2 separate regions of the Homo sapiens genome follow, and region 1 is linked to region 2. The links are contacts of gene promoters, found by promoter capture Hi-C in blood cells and fetal thymus (Javierre and others, 2016). All regions are on one chromosome and are shown on one strand. The core of a region is centred on a gene start or on the middle of the fragment in contact, and the rest is flanking DNA. Distances in the headings are between cores, read along the strand shown.

The links. The method cuts DNA at HindIII sites, captures the fragments that hold promoters and counts their contacts. A CHiCAGO score of 5 or more calls a contact.
Region 1: a contact is called between a fragment that was not itself captured here and the fragment with the promoter of FAM89A in region 2, in 1 of 17 cell types (activated CD4 T cells). The highest score is 7.1, in activated CD4 T cells.

What each region holds. Positions count from the first base shown.
Region 1 is chr1:231,337,781-231,342,204 of GRCh38, reverse strand. EXOC8 (exocyst complex component 8) reads left to right here and starts at 4,353. Exons shown (of 1, transcript NM_175876.5): 1 at 4,353-4,424. SPRTN (SprT-like N-terminal domain) reads right to left here and starts at 3,912. Exons shown (of 5, transcript NM_032018.7): 1 at 3,601-3,912; 2 at 2,337-2,436. The coding sequence starts at 3,821. RefSeq lists a silencer at 2,628-2,677 and enhancers at 2,426-3,300, 3,699-3,898, 3,301-4,175, 4,176-4,424. The HindIII fragment of the contact is 1,889 bases long and covers 2,218-4,106 here.
Region 2 is chr1:231,038,855-231,043,060 of GRCh38, reverse strand. It overlaps FAM89A (family with sequence similarity 89 member A), which reads left to right and starts at 2,807. Exons shown (of 2, transcript NM_198552.3): 1 at 2,807-3,140. The coding sequence starts at 2,850. RefSeq lists silencers at 2,646-2,755, 3,016-3,065, 3,706-3,785 and an enhancer at 3,448-4,129. The HindIII fragment of the contact is 3,223 bases long and covers 1,202-4,206 here.

The DNA of each region.
Region 1 (4,424 bases), core at 1,913-4,412, 300 kb before region 2:
CCAGTTAGGGCTCCTTCTAAGGCTGATTTGGTTAATCATGCTGTTCAACTTTTTAAAATGTGTATTATTTTTTTCCGCTTATTCATTGGGTTACTAAGAAGGTTGTGTTAACATTCTTCAAGTATGAGTCTGGGTGTCTTGGCTGACACCTGTAATCCCAGCACTTTGGGAGGCTGAGGCGGGAGGATTGCTTGGGCCTGGGAGGTTGAGGCTGTAGTGAGACAGGGTCTTGCTCTGTCACCCCAGGCTGTAGTGCTGTGGTGTGATCTCGGCTCACTGTAACCTCCACCTCCCGAGTTCATGCGATTCTTGTGCGTCAGCCTCCTGAGTAGCTGGTACTACAGGCTGTGTCACCACACGCAGCTAATTTTTGTATTTTTAGTAGAGACGGGGTTTCACCATGTTGGTCAGGCTGGTCTCAAACTCCTGGCCTCAAGTGATCCGCCTGTCTCAGCTTCCCAAAGTGCTGGGATTATGGGCGTGAGCCACCGCACCCAGCCTGATTGTATATTCTTTTTGCTTCTGCTAATTTATGCCTCATAAAATTTAAAGTTATGTTATTACTTTTGGAGAGATTATGTATTGTTGCTTAATAGATTATTTTATTATTATAAAATATCCCACTTTTCCTCTAGTAAAACTTCTTCCCTTGAAGTCTTTAGTCTGATACTAATACTGGTTGAACATCCCTAATTTGACAATCCAAAATCTGAAATGCTCCAAAATCTAAAACTTTTTGAGCACTTACAAGATGATTAAAGGTTAAGTTCTAAGGAAATGCTCACTAAAGCCATTTCAGATTTGGGACTTTTGGATTAGGGAAGCTCAACCAGTAAGTATAATGCAAATATTCCAAAGTAAAAAAAAAAAAAATCTGAAACACTTCTGGTCCCACTTTGGATAATGAGTACTCAACCTTATAGCCACAATAGTTTTCTGCTTTTAAGTGTTTGGATGATTACTTTTCCTCATCCTTTTAAACTTAAAATAAGTGTGTCTTTACTGTAAGCATGTCTCTTTTAATCTAGCATGCCATTCCATGTATTTAATGGAGTGTTTAGTCCACTTACATTTAACTGATATTTTGTTTACACCTACCTTTCTCTTTATCATCTGAGCTCTGTTCTTTTTCATTAATCAAGTATTTCTACTGTACCACTTTACATTTAGTAGCTACTTTTTAAACAAACTGTGGTAAAAAAAATTAACAAAATTCCCCAACTTACCCATTTTTATGTGTACAGTTCAGTGTTGAGTATATTCACACTGTTATGTAATCCATTGCCTTTTATTATCCTTAAAAACAGCATCTCTCATCTCCAAGCATGTTTTAACATGCTTCCCACCCCATGCTCAGAAACTACCACTGTGCTCTTTTGTACAGATAATTCTTTCTTTTTTTTTTTGAGACAGAGTTTCGCTCTTGTTGCCCAGGCTGGAATGCAATGGTACGGTCTCGGCTCACTGCAACCTCCGCCTCCCGGGTTCAAGAGATCCTCCTGCCTCAGCTCCCACTGCTCCATTCTGCTAGCAGAAGTAAGTACCAGCTCTAAATGTGAAGCGTGCCCTCACACTGGTTTGTGCTGCCAGCTCAGCTAGGTGTCCTGAGAGCACAGCAGTGTTGCAGCCCAACTGAGGAGAATCAAAATTTGTGTTTCTCAACAGGAACATGTGGATCCTGTTTTCTCTGTTTCTAAATAAGTAACTTAAGCCAGTTACTTAACCTCTCTGAACCTTAATTTCTTTACTCATAAAAATGAAAACAGCAACACATGAACATAAACAGGGCTGTTGTAAAATCAAAACAGATAATATACCTAGAAGGCTTTTATTTTTTTGAGACAGAGTCTTGCTCTGTCACCCAGGCTGGAGTGCAGTGGCGCGATCTCGGCTCATTGCAAGCTCCGCCTCCTCAGTTCATGCCATTCTCCTGCCTCAGCCTCCCGAGTAGCTGGGACTACAGGCGCCGGCCACCACGCCCGGCTAATTTTCTGTATTTTTTTTTTTGTAGAGACGGGGTTTCACCGTGTTGGCTAGGATGTTTTTGATCTTCTGACCTCGTGATCCGCCCGCCTCGGCCTCCCAAAGTGTCGGGATTACAGGCGTGAGCCAGCGTGCCCGGCCCCTAGAAGCCTTTTTTTTGTTTTTTTTTTTTTTACTATGAAGCACTATAAAAAACATAAGGTGTTCATTATTGTTTGCCCCATAATTCAAGCTTTCACTGAGGGCAAAGTGACTTTTTTTAACGATACATACAGGCGAATTCACAGCAGTCTAAATCATTGACAAGTATTTGTAAATTACTGCGCTAGGAAGCAAGTTTACACGAAAAATACCTCTACAAGATCCTTTCTTGGCCTCAACTTCAAAAGGGGTTCGCTGAGACGGATGGAACACATTCCACCCTTCCCTTCATAGCTGCATATCCCAGCACACCTAGAAAACAATCACCATAAAAATGTGTTACATTGGCCAAATATGCCCAAGTCCTTACACATTCTTGGGCAGTTCACACTAACTCAGTTGGCAGATGGCTTTCATGAAAGTATACCCCCCTTGGTTAGCAGATACTTGCATTTCACCTAATTAATTAGTTACAACCCCCGCGGGCGCCTCCCGCGATGGCTCCGATCCCCGCCGGGCAAGGAAGGAAAGCAGCGTGCTCTCACCACCCTGCTTGAGAAGGTGGAAGGCTGCAGGCACCTGCTAGAGACGCCAGGACCGTACCTGGTGTACAACGGGGACCTAGTGGAATACGATGCGGACCACATGGCCCAACTGCAGCTCCCCTTGCCCTAGCTAGGCTGCAACAGCTCAAAGGCAATCCTATTCTGCTACTCCCAGTCTCCTTCCGACAAGTTACAGTTCGGTGTTATTAACAAGCAGATATCTCCAGTAGCATATCTCCAAAATCATAACAGACGCCTGTATAAAGGAAATTGGTACTTTAAACACAATTTAATATCATATCTTAATTTGTTTGACAGTAGGTTGTTTTCTATCAACTCAAAAACAAGCATGCTGGGATACAACTGTATCTTAAACTTAACCCTGTTCACGTGCAGGAGTAGATTATTATTTCAAATAGGGATTTCTGAAATTTAGCGTGTAGAAAAAGAATCGTTTTAAAAGCATCACTGAAGATCCCCAATGCAACACACGAGCTAACTAAAGTGGGTTTCCTAACGGGAATAGAGGAGGAGAACACACATCCTTTGGCAGTTACTCTGCGTCCTCAGCACTTTCTTAGGTGCAGATTTGGTTGCTTCTCCCTTCTGGGTCCTACAGCACTATCATAAGGCAAATCAGGAACTTGTTATTTTCAAGTGAAGTGAGATTCAAATAAAAATCTCTTTTTTGTTACGGCCCTGAGTCCAACCGTGGCGGTGTGGTCTACACAGCTTTCTTATTGTTCGAGTGGGAGAAAAGGTAAGGAAGACAGAAACACGCCGAGGCAGGAATTGCCAGGTCCAAAACCAGACTCCCCTCATTTAACGCCCCCTGGGACCGTCGGACTAGAGAAAGGAGAGAAAACCAGGGCCGGGGGCTGCAGGAAAGCTGCCAGTCCCGCCTCTTTCCCCAGCGGGGCTCGGAACTCACAGGGTCATTCGCACGCTCCACTTCACCTCGACGGCCTCCAGCTGGCCCCAGAAGAATTGGTCGTTAAACTGAACAAACAGTGCCTGCAAGTCCGGTGTGGGGTCCACCAACTCCCACGACGCGTCCACTAGCGACAGGGACTCCTGGGCATGATCGCGCTCCGCCTCCTGCAAGTTCCACTCCTCCTGAAGCCGCAGTGCCAACATCAAGTCATCATCCATCGTTGCCAGGATCACAGGCGGGGTCCGCCGGCGTCAGGCTGGCTCCCCAGTTACGCCGCGACCCCAAGCCGCCTAGCCGAGGACCAGGACTAGCTCCTAGGAGATGCCGGCTCTCGAGACGGCCCGTCAATCCCGCGAGAGTTCGCGGAAACGCGCTTGAGAACGAGAACGGAGCTTACCCCAAACGCCGAAGCCAAGATTCTAGGGCTTTAAAAAAAGCAGTCAGCATGACACCTCCTAGTGGGCGCAGAACCTGGGCTCACAGGGCTCGGGCCCTACGAAGCTTTCAGGAAGCTAGTTTCAGCCTTTACTCTTTGCCGGTTATTTCAAACCTCAACGTCACGCTCGGTTCATGCGCAGTACCGAAATTTCTCTCGGCCTCTCCCTCCCCTCACTTCCGCAATAGCTCATCTTGCGCATGCGCTTTAACCGATGGCATTGCTGCGCAGGCGCAATGTCTGCGCTCGGCCCACTTGCGCAGGCGCAGTGTCTGACGCTCAGACCCGGCGCAGGCGTACTCGTCTCGTTCCCATTCCTGCTTCCTCAGCCCAGGAGCTCGGTTGGCCTTGGGTGGGTCTAGACAGCCGCGGCGGCTGCGGCGCC
Region 2 (4,206 bases), core at 1,558-4,057:
TCTGTAGAAACTTCTCCTTACCCTGGGATATTATTTGTTGATACTGATTTCAATACTCTTACCTCACTGAGTATAGGCCAGAACGCAGAGCCTGCCTTTAAAATGTTAAGGTTGGCCTGGCGTGGTGGCTCATGCCTGTAATCCCAGCACTTTGGGAGGCTGAGGTGGGTAGATCGTGAGGTCAGGAGTTCAAGACCAGCCTGGCCAAGATGGTGATGGGTATGGTGGCGGGTGCCTGTAATCCCAGCTACTTGGGAGGCTGAGGCGGAGAATTGCTTGAACCCGAGAGGTGGAGGTTGCAGTGAGCCAAGATCGCGCCACTGCACTCCAGCTTGGGCGACAGAGTGAGACTCCATCTCAAAAAAGAAAAAAAAAATTGGTAAGGTTGGCATTGTCTAAGTTGTGCCTCTTTTCTCGAGTCCTGACACCACGGACCTCATGCTGCTGTCTAGCTGACCCTAACCTCCTTTTCCTTCTGTAATCCGTAATTCTCTGAAGTATGTGCTTTAAAATGCTTTCAGTGCCCCGATACTTCAAAGTGATTTCTTTTCTTATTTCACCATCACATAGCTGAATCTCCTATCACCTACCTTGAGTGATTTCTGCTAGGTACTACAGGTGAGACTGCATTGTAACCAGTGAAATTAAAGAAATTCATGCAGGCTGGGCGCGATGGCTCACACCTGTAATCCCAGCACTTTGGGAGGCCGAGGTGGGTGGATCACCTGAGGTCAGGAGTTCGAGACCAGCCTGGCCAACATCGTGAAACCCCATTTCTACTAAAAATACAAAAATTAGTCGGGCGTCGTGGCACATGCCTGTAATTCCAGCTACTTGGGAGGCAGAGACAGGAGAATTGCTTGACCCAGGAGGCAGAGGTTGCAGTGAGCTGAGATCACGCCACTGCACTCTAGCTTGAGTGATAGACTGTCTCATAAAAAAAAAAAAATTCATGCTAAGGTGTGAACCGAATGTCAAAATGCTTCCCACCCCTTCCTCTCCCTTACTCCCACACAGGCAGACTGGTCACTCTCCTGAAGACACCCACCGTTTACATAAGTGAATGAATAAATACCTGACATCCAGAAATGTGACTAGGTAATTAGTAGAAGGTGAGGCACAGTGAAGAGGCGGAAAATTCTGGGCAGTGGGTGGGGTGGGAAGCCTGGGTGCTGTCAATCACACCGCCTGCACTAAAGCTTCTTCATATCAGTCTCACCCACTTGCAACCGTCCAGGGAGAATATTGTGCCAATTTCAAAGACACTGCTTCTGGGGTGGGCTCTAGGAGGTGGTAAAGGGTATAAAACAACCCAAAGTGCAGGGCTCTTTTATGTTGGGTGTCTGAAGTGCTCAGAACACTTTATAATTTTGATCCCCTTGAATGTAGCTAGAAAATTAAATCCCTTTATAATTAAAGCCAATAATGAATGGGCATTAAAGTTATCCAATCTATACACTGCATTAGTTTTTAATCTGCGGTTGGGCTGTAGCGTTTACTTCTTGATCTTTTCTATCTCTAATCTGGTTATAACTGCCTGTCATTTTTACTTTTCCTGGGAGGGGCAGAGTCTCTCTCTCTCTTCTCTTTTCCTCTGAGGTGTGCGTCGTGTTTATTTTTGCCTGAGCTGATGGATAATTTCCGAGATTTAATCCCTTTCTCTGGTTTCCTGACATTTCCACTTAGAGTTACTCTTGTGTTTATGGCCAGAATGAAAGGCATGTTTACTAGTGTTTTGAAGTTTCAAAAGTGGGTCTGGCGTTCTTGCTGACTGCTGCGGGTACTGCTGGACAAGGCCGTGCTGAGAAGGCCAGCGCGCCCGGCGGCAAGGAGCGACCTGCCCGGGTCTGGGGCCCCCAGCCGCCCCCCGCGGCGAGTGGGAGGCAGCAGGAGGCGGGCTGGATTCCGCCCTCGGGGAGGGCCGGGGGTCCTGGGACCAGAGCCAGGCCTCCTGCCCTCGACGTCCTGCCGGTTGTGAGCCAGAGCCTCGGTACCCCCACCCCCTGCAACGGCCTGCTTCGTGGGATCTGAAGCTGGGCCGCCCCCTGGGCAGGGCAGGGATCGGTGAGGCAAGGAGCTGAGGAGCGCTGGCAGGTAAGGGGGAAGTCTGGAGCCGGGTTGGAGGTGAGCGGGCGTTGAGGGGTGGGACAGAGGGAGTGGAGACGGGGCTGGGGGCGAGCCAGTGAACTGGGGGTGGCACAGAGGAGGTGGGAGCAGAGATGGGGGTGATCCGGAAGCCTGGGGTGGGGGGTGAGTGGGTTCGGAGCTGAGGGTGAGCCAGTGAGCTGAGGGTGGCACAGAGGGCGTGGGGGCGGAACTGGGGGTGAGCCGGGAAGCTGGGGGTTGGCACAGAGGAGGTGGGGACAGAGATGCGGGTGAGCCGGGAAGCTGGGGTTCGGGGTGGCGCGGGTGAGAGGGTTCGGAGCTAGGGGTGAGCCGGGAAGCTGGGAGGTGGTTCAGAGGAGGTGGGGACAGAGATGGGGGTGAACCGGGAAGCTGCGGGTCGCGGGGGGCTTAGTAGGTTCGGAGCTAGGGAGTGGCACAGAAGGGTTCGTGACGGGGCTGGAGGTGAGTCGGGGGGTTAGAGGGTAGTCACGCGGAGTTGGAGATGAATTAGGGCGCTGGAGGGGCGCGAGGGAGGAGGAGACCCGGGTGGAGGCGAGCCCGGCTGCTGGACGCGGACGCCACCCGGACCCGGGGCCCGCGCAGGGGCCTCGAGGAGAGGGGGCGGGGCCGGGGGGGCGTGGCGCGGGAGGGGAAGTGGGCGGGGCACCGCCGGGAAGGGGGCGGGCCGGGGGAAAGCCTTGGTTCGCTGCAGCGGGGCAGGCGCGTGGCCGGGCCGCGGCGCGATGAGTGGGGCCCGGGCGGCGCCCGGGGCCGCGGGCAACGGCGCGGTCCGGGGGCTGCGGGTGGACGGGCTGCCCCCGCTGCCAAAGAGCTTGAGCGGGCTGCTGCACTCGGCGTCGGGCGGCGGCGCGTCTGGGGGCTGGCGGCACCTGGAGCGGCTGTACGCGCAGAAGTCGCGCATCCAGGACGAGCTGAGCCGCGGGGGCCCGGGCGGCGGCGGGGCCCGGGCGGCAGCGCTGCCCGCCAAGCCTCCCAACCTGGACGCCGCTCTGGCGCTGCTCCGCAAAGAGATGGTGAGTGGGGCTCCGCGAGCTGGGGCTCTTCCCGGCCGGGCTCGCCGTCCCGGGAAAGTTCGCGGGGACCGCGCTCTGTCCGGAAGTCCCCGCGCCCACCCGCCCTTTCGGGCTCCTCCGCCCCAGGCGCCGGCGCCGTCCTCCCAACGACCCCCATTTTTCTCGCGTGCTCCGTGCCCACGATTGGAACCCCCGCGGGAGAGCCCCGCGCGCAGAGGGCGGCTTTCTTATGCCCGGCGCCCTCAGTCCGGCCCCGCTGGCTCGGAAACCTGGGCGCCCGGAAGCGCTGTGCGGGGTTCGTGCCTGGCCTGGGGGCGGGGGCGGCCTTGTCACCTCTCCCCGAGTGAAACAGACCTTCCCGGTGGGGGAAAGGCTTTCACAGCGGCCCAACGGATTAACGCGATTGCGTTTTCCTACCACGAAGAGGACAACTTTTGTCCGCCGCCAGTGTAGACAGCAGATTGGAACAGCCCGGCCCCCTTTCCGGCGCCCCAGGCCGCGCGTCCGTGATCCGATTACCGCGGGATGGCCCCGGCGCACAGATGGCTGCGAAAGCAGACGCGCACCCCGGGCGAGGGAGGCGGCCGGGTCCCTCAGCCCCGCGAAGCTGATTGCCCAAACCCTCTTGAGAAAGGTGGGAGGTGGCTGTCCTCCCGGTCTGGGTGCTGTCCATGTGAGTTCTTCGCCTTGTGTCTAAGCTCCATACCATGGGCTCAGTGTTTCTCTGTGCTTGGGAAGTACATTAGCTGTTTGTGGACCAGAACACACATGATTTAGGGTGACGCTAAAAGTAGGACAAGGGCAGGGATTTAGGCAACAGCGAGTCTTTCCCCAGCTTTCTCGGCCAGGCGTAGGCCAGGCAAGAAGAAATCAAAAACTTTTCCTCTTTTCTACCATCTTACTGGCCCCCATCACCTCCTCCCAATCCCCTCGTTTTAAAAGCCTCCCTTTCCATTCACCTCGTCCAGGTTGTCTCCTTTCCCTATAGGTAAATTGTTAAGAAATCTAACATTAGGAAAGCTGCCTTTTCCCAAAACTAAATTTGCCAAAAAATAAATTGTTATAG